3 separate regions of the Homo sapiens genome follow, and all the other regions are linked to region 1. The links are contacts of gene promoters, found by promoter capture Hi-C in human tissues and cell types (Jung and others, 2019). All regions are on one chromosome and are shown on one strand. The core of a region is centred on a gene start or on the middle of the fragment in contact, and the rest is flanking DNA. Distances in the headings are between cores, read along the strand shown.

The links. The method cuts DNA at HindIII sites, captures the fragments that hold promoters and counts their contacts. A contact is called where the count stands out against the background at its distance.
Region 2: a fragment that was not itself captured here is called in contact with the fragment with the promoter of LINC00955 in region 1 in 5 of the 25 tissues and cell types used here (H1 embryonic stem cells, bladder, lymphoblastoid cells and 2 more).
Region 3: a contact is called between a fragment that was not itself captured here and the fragment with the promoter of LINC00955 in region 1, in 4 of the 25 tissues and cell types used here (H1 embryonic stem cells, aorta, mesendoderm cells and 1 more).

What each region holds. Positions count from the first base shown.
Region 1 is chr4:3,574,357-3,578,403 of GRCh38, forward strand. LINC00955 (long intergenic non-protein coding RNA 955) reads left to right here and starts at 2,513. Exons shown (of 3, transcript NR_040045.1): 1 at 2,513-2,767. The HindIII fragment of the contact is 13,427 bases long and covers 1-4,047 here.
Region 2 is chr4:3,661,175-3,665,214 of GRCh38, forward strand. No RefSeq gene overlaps it. Among named protein-coding and RNA genes, the nearest start is that of LINC02171, 15 kb to the right of the region's middle. The HindIII fragment of the contact is 5,149 bases long and covers 159-4,040 here.
Region 3 is chr4:3,682,323-3,685,929 of GRCh38, forward strand. No RefSeq gene overlaps it. Among named protein-coding and RNA genes, the nearest start is that of LINC02171, 6.3 kb to the left of the region's middle. RefSeq lists enhancers at 1,314-1,873, 1,874-2,431. The HindIII fragment of the contact is 8,511 bases long and covers 1-3,607 here.

The sequences.
Region 1 (4,047 bases), core at 1,263-3,762:
CAGTGCCTGGGTGATGAAATAATCTGTACACCAAGACCCCGTGACACGCGGTTTACCCGTGTAACAGACCTGCACGTGTATACCTAGAACCTCAAATAGAAGTTGGAAGGAAAAAAAAAGAAACAACAAACAAAAATAATCTGAGACTCCCTGAAGGATGAGAACGGGCTGAGCGGGGCCACAGGAGCCCGCACCGGGTCCGCGGAAGGAACTCACACTCCTGCTTCAAGGTGTGGAAGGCGACCCAAGAGGCGGTACACAGACCGCGAGGGAGCGTGCTGTGAGAAGCTCAGGGAGACAGGGCCTGGGAGGCCAGGTGAGGTGTGGGCACAGCCAGGGAGAAACACTGGTGACCCGAGACGCACGGGAACTCGCAGTCACTTGACCAAGTAGCGGCCACGTTTGCGCCACACTTCCATAAACGTGACCAGTAAGGAAGCGACAAGCCTGAAGGGTCCTGACCATTTATTACTCAGGGTACAGCATGTCCTTATCCCTCTGCCTTGTCCCCCACATCTCAGGGGGCAAACAGAGCAGGTTTGTGTCAGCCGAGGAAACCCTTGATCTTCTAAGGGGACTGCTAGCCATCTCGCCCCCATCTTTGCCACAGAAAAGACGGTATCCTTTTGCCCTGGAAGATAAACCAACGTCTCGGGGAGAGGAGGGGCCGCAGGTTTATTTCCCAGAAATGTGTGCAAATCTGCAGACACAGCAGGGAGGTTTTGCTCTCCTGCATGCCTCCAGCGGGCTCTGGCTTGCAAGAATGTCTCATGCAGGCATTCTTCCAGTGCCCTGTGCTTTGAAAAATACGCAGAAAAGCCAGAATTATGGAGGGCAGCCTCCTGGGCTTGTGGGTGTTGGGCAGGTGGAGGGAGACGTATGGAATCTTCTGGTCTCCAGGCAGCTGTGCAGTGCACCGGTCGGTGGGATCAGTCAAGGAGGTTCAGAGCAGGATGGAGGAACCGCTCCAGGGATTTCCAGCAGAGAGGGGTTTGTTGCAGGGAAGGAGATGGATCCTGGGACCCTGGAGTTCGCACCCCTGCTCTGTCTGCTGCAGTGCTCCGGGGGTACACAGCCCAGCCCAGGGTCGCCCCGGTCATGTGCCCCCAGCACCAGCCCCTGGGCCTTTTATATGTTTCTGGGATGCTGCCTGTCTTCCAGTGCCATCAGGAAAGGCTCGGGGAGCTGGGCCTCACTGGACGCCATACCCCTCCCGCTGGAACAGTGCGTAGGTGTTCCGCCCTCCAGGGCAGACTGACCGCAGGATGAACGCCCCCGCCCCACAGGTGCCCAGCGCTTCACAGCTCACAGAGCCCTTCGACCTCCCTGGCCTGGGATGACCCTCTCAACACCCCCAGGAGGAGACACCGGTGCTGCCTTCAGCAGGGAAACCTGGGCTTGGATAGGTGCAGCGGCTCCTCCAAGGTGGCCAAGCTGCCTGGCCCTCGCTCATGAATTCTGAGTAGCCCCTCCTGTCACTGCCACCCACTGCTCTCCCCGGAGGCCTGTGTGTCCTTTGTTCTCTCCTGAGGATGGCTGTGGCCTCCTCCTGTTCCTGACAGGGCCCGGTGCCCACTGGCTCATGTCAGAGTTCAGGCCTGAGGGGAGGGGTGTTTGTGCTAACAGGAGGCAGAGGGCAGCCTGCCAGTCTGGCCCTGTGGCCACCTGAGCTGTCCCCTGGGACCCGTGGCTTCATGACTCTGACCCAGTGGATGCTGTCTTCATAGTCTGAGTGGGAGCCAGGTTTGACCTTGGAGTGCCTGGGGCATAGAGTCCCTGTCCTCTGGAGGAAGAGATGGTCATCCCTTTTCATGCTGACTGGCCCCAGGGCAGGACCTGCTCTTTTGGACCCTAAAAGGGACAAGGCCTGGTGGCAGAGCAGAGCTGGGGCTCAGGAGAGGGAGACGGGTGGGAGGAAGGGAGGAAGAGGAAGAGAAGGAGGAAAGGGGGAGATGAGGAAGGGGGAGGAAGAGGAGGAGGAGGAGAAGGAAGAGGAGGAGGAGGAGATGACTCAGGCACCCACGGCATTACTGTGGCAGGCTGGCCCTCGGTTTCCCCAGCAGTAAATGAAGAGATGGGGTCAAGGGGCCCAGGCCCCCTTCCAGATCTGAGACCTGCGCATCAGGCTGTCTGTATTCAGAGGAAGCCGGGGATGGCAGCTCCCAGCCGTGGGCTCGGCCTTCATTCACTGTACAGGCTCATCCATTCACCCAGTGAACCCTCCCGAGTCCCTTCATGAGGGCGGCCTCGCAGGGACTTTGGTCTCGGCTCTGCCCTGTCCTGGCCTTGGGACCCTGGGTGAGCTGAGGCAACCCAGTTTCCTGGTCTGTGACTCCAGGCTCTGTCCTCGCCCCATCGCCCCCCATCGTGGCACAGGTTCGAGGGTGTTGGCTTGCCTGGCCTCCTGAGGGCCTTCTGGGGTTAAAGTCTTCTATCCTGAGGCTGAGACCAGGGCTGGGGAGGAGGTTCAGCCCCTGTGGACTTTATCCTCCCTCTCCACGGCTGAGTCTTGATTTACAGCTGGAAGGGCAGACGGAGGCATCTTGGTGTATACACAGCCCTGCTGGGCCACATCCCGGGTCTCCTCCCTCTGCGATGCCATAGCAGGGGCGCCTTCCGAAAGCCCTCTGGATTGAGGCAGCAGGATCTATGGTGGAACCTGCCCCGGCGTCGCCAACGCCCCTAGGACCCCAGCACACTGACTGGGGAGCATCCCTGTGTCGTTTCTGCCCGGAGAGGAGCAGAGGCCAGGCTGCTGCTCTGGGAGGTGAGTGTCATGCCTGGGAACACAGCGGGGACCCCAGGGAGGGAGAGCAGGTGTTTGCTCCCTGGGCTCTGCCTGGTGGTCCTGACAGCAGTCCTGACTGTTGCGAAGGCTGTTTTTTGGTGGCTTCCTTAGGGTCCTCGCTGTGCTCTCGGTCCCAGCACTGTCTGCTCTCCTTCCTGGTTATTTGAATGACCCGGCTCCTGTTGCTGTATCCCGGGTCCTGACCTCCCCTGAGATGGACTCTGTTCAGGCTAGACTGCCTCAAGGGACCCGCTTCAGTCTATTTGTGGCAGAAAAGGTTAGCTGGCTCCTGGGAAATGTCAGGGGATAAGTCAAAGCTGGCCAGCGGCAAGGCCCAGTGACGCCCTGTCATTTTATGACTCCCTTTTCTTAATCAGTCGAGGAGAAAAACAAGCAATGAAGGATTTTCCATGGCAACCACCAGCAGGGCAGTGTTCTCTCCCTACCTGAGCTTGTTTTAAGAAGAGGGGTCTGGCCAGAGGCTGCTGACCCTGGCCCCAGAGGGCAGGGGTCGAGTGTCCTGGAGTGTGACTCCCAGGCACCTGGGCTTGGGCTGGGCCCCTGGAGCAGGCGCAGCTAATCTGGCCAATCTACTCCTTCACACTCATGGAGCAAATGGGGAAACAACCCAGAGAGGGGCAGCCCAAGGAAGCAAATTTGTAGAGCCTGACACTCTGAGAGAGCTCTCAGAAGGATACTAGTCTTCTAAACCAGAAACTTATTCATATAATAATAATAATGTTTATAATAATAACATTATTAATTCCTTCACCATCCACCCACTTACTCACCCTCTTACCCATCTGTCCATTCAACTCATCCACCCCCACATCCAGCCAGCTTCCATCCTATCATACATTCATCCACCTACCCGTCCACCCTTTCATCCTTCCTTTCTTTCATCACCCACCCATCCTCTCACTCATTCATTCATCCATCCACCCATCCATCCATCTACCCATTCATCCACCCATTCATTTATTCACTCTCCCATCCACCCATCCATTCACCCTTTCTTTCTTTCATCATCCATCTATCCACCCATCCATCCATTCATCCACATATTCGTCCACCCATTCATTATTCACTTATCTATCCATCCTTCCAACCATCCATCCATTCATCCACCTATTCTATTCACCCACCCATCCTTTCATGCTTTCTTTCTTTCATCATCCATCCATCCATCCATCCATCCATCCATCCATCCATCCGTCCATCCATCCATCCACCTATTCCATTCACCCACCTATCCATTC
Region 2 (4,040 bases), core at 1,483-3,982, 87 kb after region 1:
AGGTTGGGGGTGCCCTCCCTGCCAGCCAAGCCAAAGTGACAAGAATTCAGAGGAGCTGGGGAGCGGAGGGTGGGCTGTGGACGGGGCCGAAGACCAGAGCTGAGCTGGCCTCAGAAGGCCCCAGAGCCCGTCTGGTTGTCCCCTTGGACAGATGGGGCATGCGACGCCCACAGTGAGGAGGGCCTGCCCCAGGATCTCACGGGGTGAGGGAACAGCAAAGGGAGGCTATACAGCTGGGATCCGATACCCAGTCTAGGGTTCCTAATAGCTTCCCACGACCTGTGCCGGGCAGGGGCAGGTGCCCAGGGCACCCCTGCATGTGTGCAGCATTCTCAGAGCTAGTGCCTTCCAAAATGAAAATATTCACCAGGGCCTGGCCACTTATCTAACATACCCTGCCCACCACCAGCCTTGTCCTCAGGCACAAAACCCAGACCTTCCGGAAGATTCTATATGCATCAAAATACTCCAAAAGGATTTTGCAAACCTTGCAACAACAAATAAAAAGGTCTGAATTCTTGAAGCTCACAGGAGTGATCTGGAGCTGTCGGGAGTCTCACACAGTGTCTGATGGAGAGGGGCTGTGGGGGAAACGCGCCTGTCAGTGCTGCTGCAGACCAGCTGCAGGCGTCCACCCTGGCCTGAGGAGGGGAGCGCGTGTTCCTCTCGGGCTTGAGGGTCGGCTGAGGTCTGCTCACGGCAAGGACTGACTGGTCCTGCTTCACGCTGTGCTCTTGATGGATGTGGCTCCCACGCAGGTCCCCCTCCTCCGGTGGTTGTCCTGGGGCCCAGGCTGCAGAGGCTGCCCTCCTAGGGTGTATTCCCCTCCTGGTTACCCCTCAGGCACACACCAAGGCCCTGCTTCATCACCTCTGCCATCAAACAACTCACAAGTGAACCAGAGTCAAGGCTGGTGGGAGCAAAGGCAAAGTCACATGGCACAGACAGTAGACACCGGGAGGGGAGAGTGCGGCCAGGACCCCTGCCGGCCACGTGGCTTGGCTCACCGCTGGAGAAGAGGTCGCGGGCAGGAGGGATGGCGCGTGGAGAGAGGATGAGGGCGCGTGGAGGGCGGATGAGGGAAGGCCCTTGAGCCTCCGGCAGAGCCCTTCCTGCACTCACAGCTACAACTGCACAGTTGTGCCTGGAAAGTCCTATCTGGGAACAGCAGAGGAGTCTTGCGACTTTGCTGTCCTACAATTTACTCTGAGAGATCGCTCTCCCAAGTCAGCGCTTGCTACCTGTTTGTCCATTTGAAGAAGTCGCGCTTCATTGCATCCCAAAGTTGAATTTGTTCAGTGGAAAAGAAAGTAAGCTTGCTTCTGTTTCCGCAGCTGCCGTTTGACTCTGGGGATACAGTCCCGCCCAAATGCAGGTCTTGCAACCTGCTCGGGAGGTGGGGTCCTTGGCCTCTAGGGGACTCTCCTGAAATGGCAACAGCCCCTGCACTGCGTCCCGGGTGAGGAGGCCCCTTTCACAGCAGAAGAGGTGGGTGGGGTCGCCCAGCTTTGGAAGCTGCGTGACTTAGTGGGAGAACCCCGGCCTTCTTCCAGGCTGCAGGGGCAGAGCCGGTCCCACCTGCTCCGGCGCCCCGTGGCTGCTGTCTTCTTCCTTTCGAAACACCCTGGAGGTCATCCTGGGAGACATGAGGCACCGAAGTCAGTGATCCTAACATCGGAGTTGTGTGGAGATGGGACCACCCTGGAAAATCCTTTACGACGCTGTTGTGATGCCACCACTTGGGCCCGAGAACCAATGTCTCCTTTTCATTCACCTTTGGCCTGGGGCTGCCCCTCTCGTCACATAGGAGACAGTGGTGTGTCCTACAGTGGTGTGTGTACAGTGTGTGTGTGAGAGTGCAGTGTGTGTGTGAGTGCAGTGTGTGTGAGTGCAGTGTGTGTGAGCGTGTAGTGTGTGACTGCAGTGTGTGAGAGTGTAGTGTGTGTGAGAATGTAGTGTGTGTGAGAGTGCAGTGCGTGTGAGTGCAGTGTGTGTGAGCGTGTAGTGTGTGAGTGTAGTGTGTGTGAGAATGTAGTGTGTGTGAGTGTAGTGTGTGTGTGAGTGTAGTGTGTGTGAATGCAGTGTGTGTGTGTAGTGTGTGAGAGAATGTAGTGTGTGTGAGTGCAGTGTGTGTGAGCGTGTAGTGTGTGAGTGTAGTGTGTGTGAGAATGTAGTGTGTGTGAGTGTAGTGTGTGTGTGAGTGTAGTGTGTGTGTGTAGTGTGTGAGAGAATGTAGTGTGTGTGAGTGTAGTGTGTGAAAGTGTAGAGTGTGTGAGAATGTAGTGTGTGTGAGAGTGTAGTGTGTGAGAGTGCAGTGTGTGTGAGTGCAGTGTGTGTGAGAGTGCAGTGTGTGTGAGTGTAGTGTGTGTGAGAGTGCACCCATGTGTGTGAGTGCCTTTGTTTCACCTCATATTCTTCCTTGCCATCCTCTGGAGAGGCGGCAGAGGGTGCATGGCCAACAGTGTGTGCCAACCCATGGGCGACCTCGGAAAAGGTGAGGTTGCAATGGAGACTGTAGAACAGCAACTCAAACAGGAGGGGAGAGGACAGGCCGGGGGGAAGCCAGGGACAGCCCTTCCAGGCAGAGCCTGCGTCCCTGGTGACAAGGGGAGCTTTTCAAACAGAACCACAGCAGCAACAACAGACAGCCCGGGGCCCATCCACCAAGGTCCAGAGCACGCTCAGGACGGCCACTGGGGAGAAGATGGGCAACGGTGATGAGGTGGAGTGAGGAGGAAGTGCCTGCCACCTGAATAATGGCCACCTGCAAGCCTGTCCTTAGTGGCACCTACTTGCATGGCCCCAGCTGATAACCTGCAGCTGGGCTGTGAGTGAAATTGCTCAACCCAGGCATGCAGAGAGCAGAGCCTCAGGGAGCTCAGAGCCAAAGCTGTGTCCCTGGCCAGCTTCACAGGCTGTGCCCCCAGCAGACACACAGAACCCCTCTCAGGAGGGCCCCGGGCTCAGGAGGACTCACTGATCAGGAGGACCCTGGGCTCGGGAGGACCCTGTGCTCAGGAGGACTCAGTGCTCAGGAGGACCCCGTGCTCAGGAGGACCTCATGCTCAGGAGGACCCAGTGCTCAGAAGGACCTGGTGCTCAGGGAGACTCAGTGCCCAGGAGGACCCCGTGCTCAGGAGGACTTGGTGCCCAGGAGACCTTGGTGCTCAGGAGGACTCCATGCTTAGGAGGACCCGTGCTTAGGGAGACTGTGCTCAGGAGGACTCGTTGCTCAGAAGGACTCAGCGCTCAGGAGGACTTGGTGCTCAGGAGGACCCTGTGCTCAGGTCTCAGTGCTCAAGGGGACTCGGTGCTTGGTTTAATTCTCTCTTGTTGCCATCCTGAAATTGTTAATAATTTTCGGTGAGGACCATGCATTTGCATTTTTTTTCTGGGTCCTACAGTGGTGTGGTCTGATTTGTGTCTTCTGCATTCACAGCTGAATATAGGCCCAGGGGCTTTCTGAACTGGACTCAGTGACAAGGGCCTGACTCCCGGGCACGTGGTACTATTCTTACCACAGATGTCCGTGCTCAGAGCTGGGACATGGTCACTCCTGGGTAAGACACATTAGGTCCTTAACTAGGAGACACTCACTGGGGATTTTCTCGTGGTTCTGCTGTGCAAGTTGGAGGCAGTTGGGAGGTTGCCGAGGTGCAGCCCAGGCCCTGGCTCAGGGAGATGCTGTACAAGAGCAGCCCCTCTCCAGACAGACAGCCCTGGGCACTGCCAGGCCAGGCCCGCCTCATTGACATGCTAGGGCCTCACTGGCTTGCTGCATGCCCTGTGCCCAGGGATCCAATTTCAATATCATTACTGAGAAGTCCAACCTTCCTGTGAGCATGAGTTATTACTCAGGAATAACAGCCCAAGTGAAGAAAAATGACAAAATCTGCTGTCTGCCAAATGCGTCTGCTCGAAAGATAGAGGAGGAAAAACAGCTACCAAGGCTGGGCTTCATGTGGACTGGCTTTGAGAGCAGATGAAACCCGCTCTGCAAACCACCAGCGGGCTCAGCTACCCAGTACATTTAGAACAAG
Region 3 (3,607 bases), core at 768-3,267, 110 kb after region 1:
TCATGCTGGCTTCCAGAAACTGAGTGTTGTGGGGAGGCCCCCACCTCTCCACACCCAGGTTGATGGTGGGGGCGGACAGGCAGGAGGGATTGGGGCTGCTCCCTTCGCAGGCGTCACAGATGAAGGGTGGAGGGGACCTCTGATGAGTCCCCTCCGGCCTTCAGGGCTGGTCATGGGCCACTACTTCGTCTGCGTGGGGTGAGGCCAAGTAACGGATGGGAAACCTCTAGAGGGTATTTGGACTGCAGAGAGTTCTGCGGCCAGGGCCCTTGAGCCGCTTGCCCCAGCTGGCTCCCGCTCTGTGGAGTGTACTTTCATTTCAGTAAATCTGTGCTTTCTTGCTTCACTCTTTCGTTGCTTCGTTTGTGCATTTTATCCAATTCTTTGTTCAAAACACCAAGAACCTGGGCGACTCGAGGTCAAGACCCTCCACTGGTCACAATGGGCCTGCAAAGACGCTGAGGCTGTGTGTGTCCTGGGTGAGCCCTGGTTTTAGGGCCTCCCAAAGCACACCCAGGAGGGGATTACAGGATGAGGTGGGTGGGATCATAACAGGGGGAATATTTTGTTACTGGAAATGACTTTGGTGCAGAAGACCGGTTCCCGGGAGCACAGGGAGTGGAAGCTGGACTCTGGAGCTGGGAGGTTGGGTTTGAATCTGCTCTACTGAGCAGTCACCCGGGAAGTGACCAGATGATGGGACTTCCGTGCCTGAGTTTCCTCAGCTGCAAAGTGAGAACCAACCTCAGAGGATGATGCTGAGGATCTGTGAAGGGAGAGGGTTCCTGAGGCCACAGGTGCATGTCCTGGGCAGGATGCCCGACCCGCGTATGTACTCTGCTCACGTTGTGATTCTCCCCCAGCACCTCCGAACCCCAGCCAGCTGCAGGATTATTCCAGAAGGCCCAACCCTTGTCCTGCTGCAGTTCGGAGCCTCCTGAGAAGAACAGACACCCAGACACTGAAGGAGAAAGTGTGACGTTGGGACAGGGCCGGAGGGGATATCGGGGGGGGCTTTTGGTGGGGGTGTGGCTGGACTCGGGGTGCAGAACACTGTGGTCCTGTGACTTCCCACTTCCCTGCTCCCCTTGCTGCAAACTCCGTTCCTTTTGTAAACAGGCCCCACAGCCCCACCTCCCATTCTCCTTGGGACCCCCAGTCAGGTCCCCTCCCCGCAGCTCTGCTGGACGGTGAAGGCCGCGGGCCCCACGCTGGGCCTGGAGGTTGGCTGGTGGCCCTCCCAGCTGCGGAGGTGGGGTCGCCCTTTTCCTCAGTCTGTCTGTAGGTTTCCACGTGCCCCTGATCTTCGTGTTGGCCGCGCCTGTGCTTCTCATCCTCTCTCCACTGCCCTCGCTCCTCCATCTCCTCGCCGCCCCACCTCCTCCACCCGCCCCGATCACCGTTCACCCCAACAGCCCCAGCGGCGCCTCGAGCTCCAGATGCACCATCCGCCTACACGCCTGACACCCTGCTTGGACACCGAGGAAGCGTGTTGAACTTGATGTTTGGGGCCCAGCCGCTCCTCCCCGAGACCCACTCATGCCCCTTTCCTTGCTGTTGTGAGATGGGATGGTGTTGCGCCCTCAGATGCTTGTCCTCAAACCTCTCACAGCATCAGGATCATTCGGGGTTTCCCTGTCACCCACGGTTTCGGCAGCTCAGTCCCCCGCCTGTGTTCTCCAGGTCCTGGTGCCGTGCGTGGACCCCAGCTGTGCACCTCCCCCACAGCTATCGCTGCCTCTGTGGGGAACGTGCTTCACCTGCCCGCTGGAGGGCCAGAGGCACCCCTGCTCCGGGCCAGTGGCGGAAGGGGCAGGAGTGTCAACGCCCTGGCTGCTGCCATCAGTGGGGACACTCCGATGTCCAACTTGCACTGCCCCAGAGTTCCCCTGGGGACTGGCTGGCATCCCCGCTCCTGGAGCTCCTTCCCTTCCCAGTCCGGCTCGTGTTCCCCAGGGGATTGAAGCCACACAGGTCCTCACCCCAGGCTAGCCTCACTGCAGGCAGACACCCACTTCGGGGGCTCACTGCATCCCAGGCTCCCCCTACCCTCCATCCCACCACGGCTAGGTGGTCAGGCGGCCCGTCTCCATTTCTGCGGATCTGAGACCTCCAGGGCCTGTCTGTGCTGGTCGTTTTCTTTGTCCCGTGTTACTGAGTATGGGAATGCTGGCGGGCACCCTGAGACTTATAGCATCCTCCTGGCCCCCGTGTCTCTGAGGATTTGCTTAGCACCCAGGGCAAGCCCTTTCCTGTCTGCTGGCTGGAAGGTAAAGCCCACCAGAGGCCTGACAGCAATCTCAGTTCCTAACCTGCAGGGACCACAGCTGTTTCCTAAGACAGCACTCCTCCCACCAACACCGGACCCTCCAGGTCGTCCGGCCCAGAGCCACGGAGGGCGGCTGAGCACTGTTTAATGGGTTATTTGAGTAACAGTTCGGGGGCTGCTCTCACCTCCTGCCTGTGGCTCCCAATGGAGTGTACTGGAAATGGGGGAAATGGCGCCAGGCATTAGTCATTCACTTAAAGCCTGTGCCCCATCCCCCTGTAGAATCCAGCTCCAGAGCTGGTCTCCTGCAGGCCCTTCTATTCCTCCATCAGGCCAGCTGTGCCCAGGAACGGCGTGTAAGTTAGGCCCACGAAACCCAGGGACAAAAGCCCAGAGCTACACTTTCTTTCAGAGAAAATTGAGTTTCTTGGTCAGAAATAATGTTGGACGAGATACCTCGGGAGTGAATAGGTGTTTGCAGGACCACAGACGACGATGCTGACAATTGAATGGGATTTGGGAAAGGCAATTCACATCCCAAACACGTATCTCCTTCCACGAGGGCATTTATGGCTGAGGACAAGCATCCAGCCTCTCTGTGCAGGTGTGGAGTGACAGCCCCAGCTTCCTCGCAGCCTTTCCACCGGCCCCTCCATCACGAGAAGGGGCTACCAGAATCCACCTACCAATAGGGCAGCCTGGGACAGTGCCTCGTGGGAGGTCAGCATTGGCCTGGGCTGTCAACAGGCTGGACATACAAGAATGAGGGCAGCTAGGGCGGCCTTCGTGAGGGGGTGTCCGTGCTGTTGGCCCCCCACTACTGCACTGACCCTTCATACATGACCATTCAGACACATGCCCTCATATGCACTAAGGCAGCTGGAGAGTGAGGCTGGAAGATATCCACATGAGAAGGCATCTCGTCCAGCTCATCACCGAGACCCCCACTCCCGGGGGTCCAGCCACACACCTCTTCCCACACTTCCCTTGTCAGCAGCCTTGAAACTCGCTCTTTTCAAGTTCTGAACAGTCATTACAGTCACATGTCCATGGGTTCATGTGACCTGGATCCCGGGACATCTTTCTTCCCTAAGAGACAACGGGCGCCCTAACCTTAGGGGGAAAGACTTGAGAAGATTGCAATGAAGCTGAAGTTGTCACTTTGCACCCTGCACAGGGAGACCCCAGGTCTCATCCTCAGCCACCAGTGCCCTCTGGATTTTACCTGCTGGTATTTTGATCTGAGGCACTGAAAGTCAAAACAGATAAAAAAGATCAGAGCAGAGATCAGTGGCGTTAACAGTAGGTTTAATTAATGGCGGAATTGATACATGGATC